Regions from separate parts of the Homo sapiens genome. Here region 2 is linked to region 1. Evidence: promoter capture Hi-C in 16 types of primary human blood cells and fetal thymus (Javierre and others, 2016). All regions are on one chromosome and are shown on one strand. The core of a region is centred on a gene start or on the middle of the fragment in contact, and the rest is flanking DNA. Distances in the headings are between cores, read along the strand shown.

Region 1 (6,170 bases), core at 2,811-5,310:
CGGGCTAGCTAGCGGCTCGGCGCCCCCAGTCCCCAACCTGGGCCGGGGCTTCCGCTCCCCTCCCATCCAACACTACCCCTAGCCCCTCCCCCCAGCCCCCACATCCCCCCCAGCCCCCACATCCCCCGCAACACTGTACCGAGAGCGTCTAAGGAGTGGAGATGCCACTTCCCTGACAACACCTTTCTCTGACCTCTAGGGGTGAGGGGTCTAGCTTTTTGTTTAACGGTTTCTATTGAGCCACTGTAGCCCGCCGCTGTCCTCATCCGCTCACCCTAGAATGCGCCTCTCCTGCCCTCCCCTCCCGCGTGGCCCCCGCCCTTGCATCCGCGCTCTCTCCAGTGGCAGAGTTACGGGATTTCTAATGACTCGACTGCATGTGGCAAACGTCCTATCCTAAAGGTGACTGCATCAAAAAAAAAAAATGCTCATGGAGGGAAGGGGTGCGTGAAGAAGCGCCAACTAGAATATCCCATAATCTCTGCACACCAGGGCCCAGTCGTGCTGCACCGGAGTTCTAATAGGGTCTCTCAAAGACAGGCTCGGCTGATCCACACAATAAAACCGGCTCGGGCCCGCCGCGGCGCCCCTGCAGCCGTGCGCCCCCGCCGCGCTCCCGCGCACACCCCGGGCTCCCCCGGTTGTGAAGCCGGAGCGGAGGCGGGGGCGCGGGAAAGCCAGATCGCGATCGGCGAGCTCGCGAGCTCTGCTCTCGGAAAGCGGTTAACAATAGCACGCCGCCCCCTCCGCCCGCCTCCGCGGCCCTTTGTCCCCCCCACCCCCACTCCTTTCCCTGCGGCTCCGGCCAGGGGCCCCCGACCCACCTCCCGGGCACCACGGAGCCCTTCGAGTCTCCAAAACCCGGCTGCGTGCTTCAGAAGAAGGACACGGAATGGGACAGGGGAGCTCAGGGGTCCGACCTCCAGCCCGTCCTCTGTCCCCGCCACCAACTCTCCTGCCGCTGCGCGCGCCTCCAGCCGTTCCCACACCGCAAACCACCGTGCAGCCCAGGGCGGCGGCTGTCAGCCCCGCCAGACCCACTCTCACACACAAAGAGAAAGCGAAGGGGCTCAACTTGGGCCAAAATGAAAAACCGGATTCCCTAAACGCGGCCAGAAGTGTGTCAGCCCCTGCCTGCCGCCCCCCGGCCCCCGTGGTCCCCGCAGCACTGAAGGGCGCACCCGAGCCAGGCGGAAAGGGAGCCGGAACGCGAGCGCGTTTAGGACCGCGCGGAGCCGGCCGGGCAGCCGCTAAGTGCGCCGCGGGGCCCGGGCGGCCGAGCGGGCACCTGCCGACCGCGAGCGCGGGAGGGCTGGAGCTCCGGCCGCCTGGCACACCTAGGCCGGCCGCCCACGCCGCTCGCTTCGGTCGGCGCGGCCCCGACACCCTGCGGGTGGCCGCCGCGGCCCCGGACACGCTCGCTCGCCCACCCAGGGCCGCCCACTGCCTGTTGTTCTGGTATCGAACGCTAGGCAGGGTGGCAGCCCTTAAAGAGGCCAGATGGAAACGGCACTTTTAGTAAAGTTTAGTCTTCTCTTTGCAACAACCAGAATCTACCTTTACTTCTGGGGTGGGGAGGGGATAGTTATATTTCAACTGAATAATTGCAAAGCAAAGAGCTATAACTTTTTTTTAAGCAGCGAGTGGAGACGGCCGGAGCAATTTCACACTACTAGGCTCAGCTGTGGGCTTAGGCTCAGGGGTGAGCATGAGGAGCAAATCCTGGGCCTCGTGGATCTGGGACCATCCCCAGCCCAGGCCTAAGTCCTCCTCACCTTCTGGCATCATCCGCAGCCGCACGAAGCTAAACATACAGTTTAGATTGTGTTCAACATCTGGCACTAAAGCATGAGGAAGAAAAATCACCAGAGGACTTTGTTTTTTACGACCTAGTTTAAGTGTTGTCAGGTGGGTTCACTCAGAAGTTAACTCCTTCCAACAGTCTAGTTGCCCAAACTGGCGCTTATTTTTTTTTTTTTAAGTAAGGAAAAAACTCAAGAGTCCACCCAATTGGGACTGTGTTAGTTGACTTCGTGCCGTTGGGCTCAGGGTGCCCCGGCAAGCACGTGTGTGCAAGCATAAAGTGGGCAGAGCCACCAGCCCTCGAGTCTGCAGCCCTCAGTGCTGAGTCACAAATACCCTCCGCTGAAAAATGAAATCCTCGGAATGCCCTTTAAAATTCGCTCGCAGCGTTTGCACGCGCGCACACACTCACACCAGAGAGCCACGCAGGAGACCTACACAGGGCTGCACACTATGGAAATTTAAAAGCAGAGGTTATCACTTGATAGCTGGAAGGACAAAAACCCCTGAGCGCCCTGCCTCTTCCCAAGTCATTTTCCCCCAAGCCTCTGCCCCTGCTTTTCACGGAGCCTAAAATATGACTTTAGTCCTCCCAACAGGACAATCCGTCAGCAACCTTCGCCTATGGGGCTTTCAGACCCTCACAGGGGAGAATAAACAATGCACTTAATATACAATTCAAGTAGTATACTTACTAGAGGAAAGGGGGAAAGGAAAAAAACCTTAATTTGGGCACAAGATACCCACTGCCTTCAAGAAACTGCATTAAGTTCTTAGTAGTTAATGATTAAAGCTTTAAACTCGTGCAATCAGTCCATTCAAAAGAAACTTCCTAAACCCGTGTATCTGATGCAAAAGAACTGGAAACTTGTATTATATTTATAAATTATGCCCCCCTTTAAATTAAAAGTAGGGGGCCTTTCAGTGTATACTTGCATCAGTGCCAGCAGCAGATCTGCAATTCCGGAGGCATTTTTTTTTCGGAGCTGGCAAGACAGAGAGAGAGAGAGACAGAGATACAGAGAAAGAGGGGAGGAGGGGAGAACCCTTCCCACGTCCCCCACCCGGCCACCACCTTCTTGGTAGTTATAATTTCAACATGTCATCTCATGGACACTAAAGGGTTAATGGTATACCTACCAAATCGGCTGTGGTCTTTCCTGGTTCCCTGGATAGTACCATTGGGGAAGATTTCTAAGTGAAATCCAGTCCTGCAGTATAGCTGCCTCCGCCTGAGAATCCCCTTTAAATGATCCAAGTCCGTGACTGCGGGTCCCCTGGGGAGCCCCCCTGCTTCGGACTGACCCAGGTGGTCACTTAACAAAACCGGGCTGTCCACCGGCAACACGGGCACATTCCCAAACGGTACCGCATCCTGCACACCGAAATAGTTCCCAACTTCACCTAAGGGAGCCATCAGAGGACTCGGCTTTTGGAGCACAAGAATAAACAATAATGATGGTGTCAACCCAGGAGATATTAGGCGAGGTATATCCAACTCCCCTCCCTTACTGCAGTTGCAGAGAGAGAGAGAAAAAAAAGGTTCTTTTCTTCAATCCATTAAATGCATAAATAAAAGTAATCTGCTGTTTCACTGGCACAGGTTCAAGGTCAAACCACTGATAGTCTAAGAAACCACCACTTTATACTCACACACTGACATATTGATAAACATATCTATGTATCTCTATAGATAGATCCCCAGCTCTTAGCAGGCAGGAAGGTCTTCATCCCATCCGACCGTAATAAGGAAAAAAAATCCGTAGTTTCTCCATTTGGTTTGAGATCAGAATGACCATAGCAACTTAAATGCCTAGGCGTTATTATAGGGATTTTTAAGATGCACGGGCTACGTCAGAATTTACGGATCCTGACTCCAGGAAGGCATGCGCTGTTTTTACTCTCTAACCGACTCTGCAGACATCAGCATGAATCCTTCAAGGGGAAAAAAAAATCTCACGTTGGTGGCGGCGACAAATCTCCCCTCCCGGTCCCCCCTCCAAAAAATGATAATAATAATAAAACAAAAAGAAGAAGAAACTTTAGGCGTCCAAAGCTAGTATCCAGGATTCTCCAGAGGCTCGGCAGATGTCCATTGGCTTAGAACGGGTGGCGAGCGGCGAGCGAGGAGAGCCGCGTCCGGGAGCTCGCGTGCCGCCCAGGCTGCCGCGAACAGGTGTTGCCGCGCCGGCTCGCGGAGCGTTGTAGCCGGGCGGAGCGCTCCTCCTGCGCAGCCCCCGCCGGCGCGCAGAGTGGCGCAGGCAGCGGCATTGGGCTGGGTTTAAGGTAGCGCCGCCGCAGCCCGGGCTCCCCGCGGTCCTAGCGCCCGGCTTACTGCCCGCGCCGCTCTGCGGCAGGCGAGGTGCGGCGCGCCAGAGCGCAGGACTTCCTGGGAGGCAGTCGAGGAGCCCTGGCTTTACAAAGAAAAGCAAATGAAAGATGCACTGCGAGAGGCGGGAGGAAGAAACCCTGAGTCTCCCGAGACTCAAAGTTCTCCTGCAGAATAGAAGCCGGTAACCTACAATCTAGCTGGCTGGCTACATTGATGGAGGGTCAGAGTGAAACTGGGAAACTAGTTTTCACTGGGGCTCTGTAACCTTGCGTTGTATTATAGAATATGACTGAGTTGAGAGAGTCGGAGGGAAGGGGAGTTGATTTAATGGACTCGGATGGCCATGGCAGTTTCTCTTCCATTCTTCGGCCACACACACAGAAGCGCAAACTATGTTTCAGGTAAGATCAACTCCTCTCCCCCGTCACACACACACACACACACACACACGCAGATGCGGCCACCGTTTCTGTTTTGTTTGGAGCGTTCTGCTGGGCATCTTTGGGTTGGGGCTATGTTTAGGTCCCGCCCCGCTGCTCGGGTCCCGGCGGCCGCAAAGCAGTCGGCAGGGGGGCGCCAGAGAACCTTCTCTGTCCCCGACTTCGACTCGGGCGCGCGTCTTCGGGAGTCTGGGTGGAGGGGAGCGCTCCAGTAGGCGTCTTCTCGCCCTCAAACCACGCTGCTTAGGACGAGCGGCGCCATCCCAAGCCGTGCATCGGCTCGGGGAAGCGAAAGGCGAGTTCTGGTGTCTCACTCCACCGTCCGAAGCCCGCCGCGGAGCTGGGAGGGCCGGGCACTGGATGCTTGCGGGGCGCCCCGGGGCTGCAGCCGCTCCTTCCTGCTCTGCCCTGCGGGGCCGCACGTGGAAGCCTGAGCTCCGTTGCGCGGGCTCGGGTTTCTGTTAGCCGCCGGCGGCCTTCGCGCCCAGCGGGAGTCAGGGACAAAGAAACCCGCCTCCGGGGGCCGCCAGGGGCCCTGCCGGGCCGGGCCCGCCAGAGAGACTGGAGGCGGCGCGCTCTGCGCCCGGGACAGCCTGCCTGCGCCCGGATCCCCAGTGGCGGCGGGCGCGGAGCGCGGCGCCCCCCAACACACACACACACACACACACACACACACACACACACACACTCGCCCACAGCCCTCCCGCGGGGCCCCCCTTCCCTCCCCCTGCTCCTCTTTGTTCACATTGTCTTAGAAACGGCCCGACTCTCGGGTCAAGATGGTGAAAGTTGCCGAGACTTGAGCGCAGCTCCACACTGCGGGGCGTGCAACTGAGAAGCAAAGTCGAAAGCAGAGACTGAACCCCTGCGGTGGGGAAGCGAATCAAAACCTGGTTATGGGGGAGAAGTCGGATCCGCCTTAGTAGTCAGCTAAAGGCTGGAGATGCATAACTGGGGCTGGCCCTACTCCGGACGGGAGGGCTTCGCCTGAAGACGAAAGGGAGCGATGAATTTGCAGATTTCGGGGGCGCTGGAGGTGCCAGCGACCTGGAGCGACCTTCCCCTGCCCTCCGGGGAGGAAGGCGTGCTCCGGCCCGGGCGAGGAGGAAGGAGAGAAGAGCGAGTGGTCCTCCCCTCTTCCTTTCCCACCCCCCCTTTGCCGCAGTCCAGGGTCATTGGGTGTCCGGGGCTGGCTCGGTGCGTCTTGCTTACGTGTTTCTGAAGCATGAGAGCCCTGCCCCGTGGTATTTACAGCAGTCACATCCGCGGTGGTACAGAGCGGGCTTTAACGTTAACTGCTCGGCGGCAGATACAAGAAGCTGGGTATTAAGTGTCACTTCTCATAAACCACCCGAGTCGCTCGCATTAATCTCCGAGGCAGCCAGCAGTGATGGGTACAGCAGGGGCGTTCCTCGACCAGTTGGGTACAGTGCGCCGGGATGGTTACTTAGTGGGGAAAAAAGCGATGGAAGAAACAGAGACAGGCCCAGAGAGACAGGGAGACGCTTCATAAGAAGAGAAACGAGCAGCACGTGGACATTGGACATTTCCAGTGAAGACAAGACTGGGACCATTTCCACCAGCTGTCTCCAACC
Region 2 (5,686 bases), core at 138-2,637, 1.1 Mb before region 1:
AAAATAATGCAGCTCATACTACATAAATGGGCATCTTTGATTGGCTTTAATAATCACTTGACTCAGAAGTATGCGTGCTCCATGTAGTACTCCGGACACTAGAGAGTCACTTAGTACAGTGCTAAAGTTAATTAACATGTCTATATCAAACGTGGATATTTTAAAGTCTAGAGTCCTATGCACTCTATATGAAGGAAATATTTTTCAAGATGTGACAATCTCTAAGCAGAAGTCATCAGATGTGCTGTACTTCCTAAGCAAAACCTGTAAGAAAGCAGGTTCTCAGTCCCAGAATGGAAATTTAAGTGTAAGAGTTACCAGAATTCTCTGCTAGGCTGCCAAGGATGCAGCAGTGATAATGCTTCTTTCCTCAGGCTCAAATTCTTCTCAAACTAATTCAACTCTGCCTTTCTCAGAAACAATTTTTCTTAAAAAAATTTCTTTTTAGCTACAATAAATCAAAGTAAAGTATTGTATTCATCAGTGGTCATGAAAATTCTTTACCACACTGAGAAAGTGGCATGGATTTTTTTCATTCGTGTATTTATTAATCTGTACCTATACATTCCTTCTCTGATGAGATGATGACCATCTTGCATTTTCAAAATAACTACAGAGAGCTTTTTGGCATTAGGATGAGGTTGTTGGCTCATTAAAAATACTCCCTGGGCTCCATCATAGCTTCTGCAGTGAAAGGTAGGAGTAGCTGAATTCTTGAGTCTCTTCCTATGCTGGAATTCAATGAAGCTTCATATGAGAGATAGGATATGGGAACTAACACTATCTTAATGTCACAAAACAATTCCAAGAAAGTTGAATTTTTTTTTACAAAAGCATTTGACACTAGGTATTTTGGTCAGGCCACAGAATCAGATCAACTGTTTTTTTTTTGTTTTTGTTGTTTTCCATTTTCTTATTTTTTTTCCTTTTAAAAAAGGTCTTGATACCAAGGAAACTATCAGCTCTCCTTATGAAAACAGAACACAAAAATTAGATAAATTCACATTAGCTTCCTATTGTTTGAGTCATACTTTGACTATCAGTTCTAAGTCACACCCACTTTGGAAGTCTAGGCAGACATTTTAAAAAGGGGAGATTTTTGCTACATTAAGTAAGACTAAAGATATTCATCTCTGTTCACTAACTGTCTAGACGTGGGAAACATCTGGGAAATACACCAGAATTTTAATATAAATTTCCTTCCGTGCTTCTCTTGGGCCATTCTCAGGAAACTGCTTTACTGCTGGTCTCTGTGATAAAAATCCTTGTACTCACAACTCCTTTCTTATGTGCTCATCAGCTCCTTCCTTTTATCTTCCTGGTAAGTGCGAAAGGGAAAGAATCACCTTTTCTCAAACTAATGATCTGTGCAAATGTTTTCTTTTTTTCAATGAACTTTTGCATATAATCTGAGTAACACAGTGTATTGGTCTGTTCTCACGCTGCTATGAAGAAATACTCGAGACTGGGTGATTTATAAAGGAAAAAGATTTAATTGACTCACAGCTCCACATTGCTGGGAAGGCCTCAGGAAACTTACAATCATGGTGGAAGGGGAAGCAACATGTCCTTCTTACAAGGCAGCAGGAGAGAGAAATGCCAAGCCAAGGGGTAAAATCCCCTTATAAAACAATCAACTCTAGTGAGAATTCAATCACTATCAAGAGAACAGCATGAGGGTAACTGCCCCCATGATTCAATTACGTTCCACTGGGCCCTACCCACTACATGTGGGGATTATGGGAACTACAATTCAAGATGAGATTTGGGTAGGAACACAGCCAAACCATATCACACAGGATCATCACTAATTAGTTGTTTCTTTCTAATGTAAATATCTTTAGCTGTCGCTCCTTCAGAATACACTAGTTCAAGCAAGAAAACATGTTTTCTGCCCCTAAAAATTAGTTTGATTTTGCTCTTTGGAAAGAGATTTCTGGTCTGGAATGGTGGCCTCCTTGCTTCAGCCAATCTAAATCACAACCATCCTTCTTGTTGATTTGAGTCAGACTTATCCATGAAGCTTTCCCGAGACTCTTCAGAAGTCATAGCAGTCACTATATAATTAATTGTCCCGGACAATTTGTTATGCTGTATTATTCGGTTTATGAAATGTGGCTATATCTTGTTCTATCAAATAGTTTGTAAGAAGACGGATACTGAACTGCATATAACTTTGTCTGTTCCTCAGGGTGTGGCCTGAAGGTGTTCCATACATAGGGCTCTTGCTGCGTTGTGCCAGTAGACAGGTACATTCTCCTTCAGTGTAGATTGCTGGCTCCTCATGTGGAAATTCAATACAGCAATACTGCAGTGAACCCATTGGATGGGAGAAGTACCTGAAAATCTGCATAGGATCCCTGCTTGCTACAGCTGATGGTATAGCCTAAATATGTTTCATTTTTAAAGTTGACATGGCAGGATTATACTTTAAAGACATCACGATGCTTTTTCAACTTGCTTGTGAGTGATTGAATGATGCTTTATCAAATGGTTGTGAGGGAAAGTATCTGAGATCATCTGGTGAAATGGTTCCCAATATAAAATTGAGAAAAGGGATCTAAGCTACGTTGGTGCTGATGCAGTTCAGACTACTTGAAATATTAAGACTTTTTTCTTTTGGCTAAAGTTACATCAATTAAGAATGACAACAATGATTGTTTCATTCTCACAGGAAACCCTAAATAGCTAAGTAACTAGACATGCATCTACTATTGATTAACAAAAAGGTAGACATGTATCATCAGTAACAGTTGACAATAATTATTATTTCATTCTCACAAGAAACCCTAAATAGCTAGGTAACTGGACATGCATCTACTATTGATTAATAAAAAGGTAGACATGTATTATTAGTGGCAATAGTATTTTCAGCAGAAAATATACTTAAAAATAGAGCTACCAATATGGATTAGAATATGTCAAAAATTGTAGGTGTTGAAAAGTTGTCAATTACACATCAAATCCAGCTCCATTTAGGTGAGGCAGTGTTGGGGATGAGAAATCTGAAACCACCAAAAGTTAATTTTTGTGGGGCATAGGGGTGAACCTGGCAGAACTCACATCTTATAATTAGAAGTGCATTGCTTTTTAAATTTATTTTTCTGTAGACTTTCAGAAATTAACCAATGGCCTAGTGAAGATGACAGAAAGTGTTTGCAATCCTGTTAGGTGTTTAAATTGCTTAAGAATGGGGTAAAAGTCATTGTGTTGAAAGAAAATTACCAAGAACAAACTTTCATCCATGGGCTTAAAGTATAATTCATGTTAAACTATTTCTCAACATAGTGAATTATAACATTTGTCTTCATAATTATGTTTCTTTATTCTGTAGAAAAGTTAATAATTCAAAAAATCTCAAGGAAATAATTAGTGGGGAGTAAATATATCACTGATGTATTGGGACAGTGGTGTTTGGTCAGGCACAGGCTTGGTGTTAAGAGTAGATTTCTTTATGAAAGTAATGGATTTCAGGAAATAGTTGCAATCCAGCACTTTGGGAGGCTGAGGCAGGCAGATCACTTGAGGTTGGGAGTTCGAGACCAGTCTGACCAATATGGAAAACCCCATCTCTATTAAAAATACAAAATTAGCCTGGCATGGTGGTGCATGCCTGTAATGCCAGCTACTCAGAAGGCTGAGGGAGGAGAATCACTTGAACCCAGGAGGCAGAGGTTGCGGTGAGCCAAGATTGAGCCAGTGTACTCCAGCCTGGGCAACAAGAGCAAAATTCTGTCTCAAAAAAAAAAAAAAATCTACACTTTTCATTTCATTTAACTTCAAAATTGAGACCATGAGCCAGCATGCAGTTCTGTACAGTAAAATTGTTTAATCTCCATTGTCTTTCAGAGAATCCACGCTACAGCTGATAGGGTAGAAATTCATACTGAATTCTAAATATAATGCTCATGAAGTTAGATTCATCACATGAATAACTGCAAACACAAGAAAATTATTTTTTCTATTAGCACATAATGGGTTTTAACAACTTTTGGAAGGTTTCGTAATGTAATTCTGTCCCACAGTATAGAATATTGGACATAGGTGGCCGGGTGAGGTGGTTCATGCCTGTAATCCCAGCACTTTGGGAGGCCAAGACTGGCGGATCACGAGTCAGGAGATTGAGACCATCCTGGCTAACACGGTGAAACCCCATCTCTACTAAAAATACAAAAAATTAGCCGGGTGTGGTGGCGGGCCCCTGTAGTCCCAGCTACTCGGGGAGGGGGCTGAGGCAGGAGAATGGCATGAACCCAGGAGGCGGAGGTTGCGGTGAGCTGAGATTGTGCCACTGCACTCCAGCCTGGGCAACAGAGCAAGACTCTGTCTCAAAAAAAAAAAAAAAAAAAAAAAAAAAAATATATATATATATATATATATATAATGACACATGTTTAGAAAAAAGAAAAAATATTTTCTCTCTTTAGAAATTCATACCTCTACATATGCACACAGAAAATATAGATACAAGAGTGGAAACCAAATTAATGCTTCTATTTTACTTGACTTAGGGGAAATTATATTTGCATGACACTATATTAAAGTGAAACAAGAATGAGTAAATAAAAAAGTTGAAATGTCATTTCCTTTTCAAACTACAATCTGTACTTATTTCTTCAGGGAGTATTTCTCTGTTGAGTCTAAGATTAAGTTGAAAATGATTATCACAGCAAGGTCTCTGAATCACCACTAAGCATAAATACATGGAAAGGGAGCTGCAGGGCCATTTGATATTTACAGTTATCTTTTTAAAATATCACATTAACTCATAGAAGAAACATATTTTTAAAATAAAATTAAAAGTTGTGTTATTGGCGTAATATTTTAAGGAGTACTTTTGCTGGCTGGAGGATATTTTAATATTTCTCTTGAATGAGCTTAGTTTTTATTTTATTGTATTTTTAGCATCTTTCAACCAAAACATCAGATGAGAGTTTTTAAAGGCTCTTTTATTTAGAAGTCATTCTTTGTGATTCAGATTCTCCGATTAACACCTAACTGCCCATGTTGGTGATGGAAGTGATATGGAAGGGAAGTGCTGGGAAGGGAAGAGCTGGTCCCTTTAAATGATATGGAAGTGGGGAACGGAAGTGCTGGGTAGAGGAAGGATGGTCCCCGGCGAGGGCTCCACCACTGGGTGAGGACAGGCATTTTTGTTGCATTTCCCAAGATCACCCTGGACTGCCACGCCTATAACCACCCCACCACCCCTGCCCCGGCCACAACCCTAGCAGGCAGACACACAAGCTGCTGGGCCTAGAGAGGAGCAGATAGGCAGAGGAGCGCACGGGCGGCTGGATGCCTAGAGGAACACAGCGACAGGCACCGGCATGCTGGCACACCAGGCCACCGACGGGCAGAAGCAGAACAACCTGCAGTTTGGCTGGGGCAGAGGAGAGCCCGGGCCACTAAACGGCCCGACTCTAGGGGAAAACCTTCCCACTCCATTCCGTTCTGTCTTCTGCCATCTGCTACTTCCACTCGATAAAACCTTGTACTCATTCTCCAAGCCCACGTGTGATCCGATTCTTCTGGGGCAAGAACCTCGGGATACAGAAAGCCCTCTGTAGTTGCAATAAGGCAGGGATCCAGTTGAGCTGACTCACACAAACTGCCTATAGGCGGCAAAACTGAAAGCACACTGTAACACATGCCCACTGGAGCTTCGGCTGTAAACATTCAGCCC

The links. The method cuts DNA at HindIII sites, captures the fragments that hold promoters and counts their contacts. A CHiCAGO score of 5 or more calls a contact.
Region 2: a contact is called between a fragment that was not itself captured here and the fragment with the promoter of FGF9 in region 1, in 4 of 17 cell types (M2 macrophages, megakaryocytes, M0 macrophages and 1 more). The highest score is 7.2, in M2 macrophages.

Annotation. Positions count from the first base shown.
Region 1 is chr13:21,668,963-21,675,132 of GRCh38, reverse strand. It overlaps FGF9 (fibroblast growth factor 9), which reads right to left and starts at 4,060. Exons shown (of 3, transcript NM_002010.3): 1 at 2,944-4,060. The coding sequence starts at 3,220. RefSeq lists silencers at 1,097-1,226, 1,247-1,466, 4,073-4,132, 4,153-4,202, 4,983-5,242. The HindIII fragment of the contact is 3,792 bases long and covers 2,599-6,170 here.
Region 2 is chr13:22,744,816-22,750,501 of GRCh38, reverse strand. No RefSeq gene overlaps it. Among named protein-coding and RNA genes, the nearest start is that of LINC00621, 170 kb to the left of the region's middle. The HindIII fragment of the contact is 1,276 bases long and covers 750-2,025 here.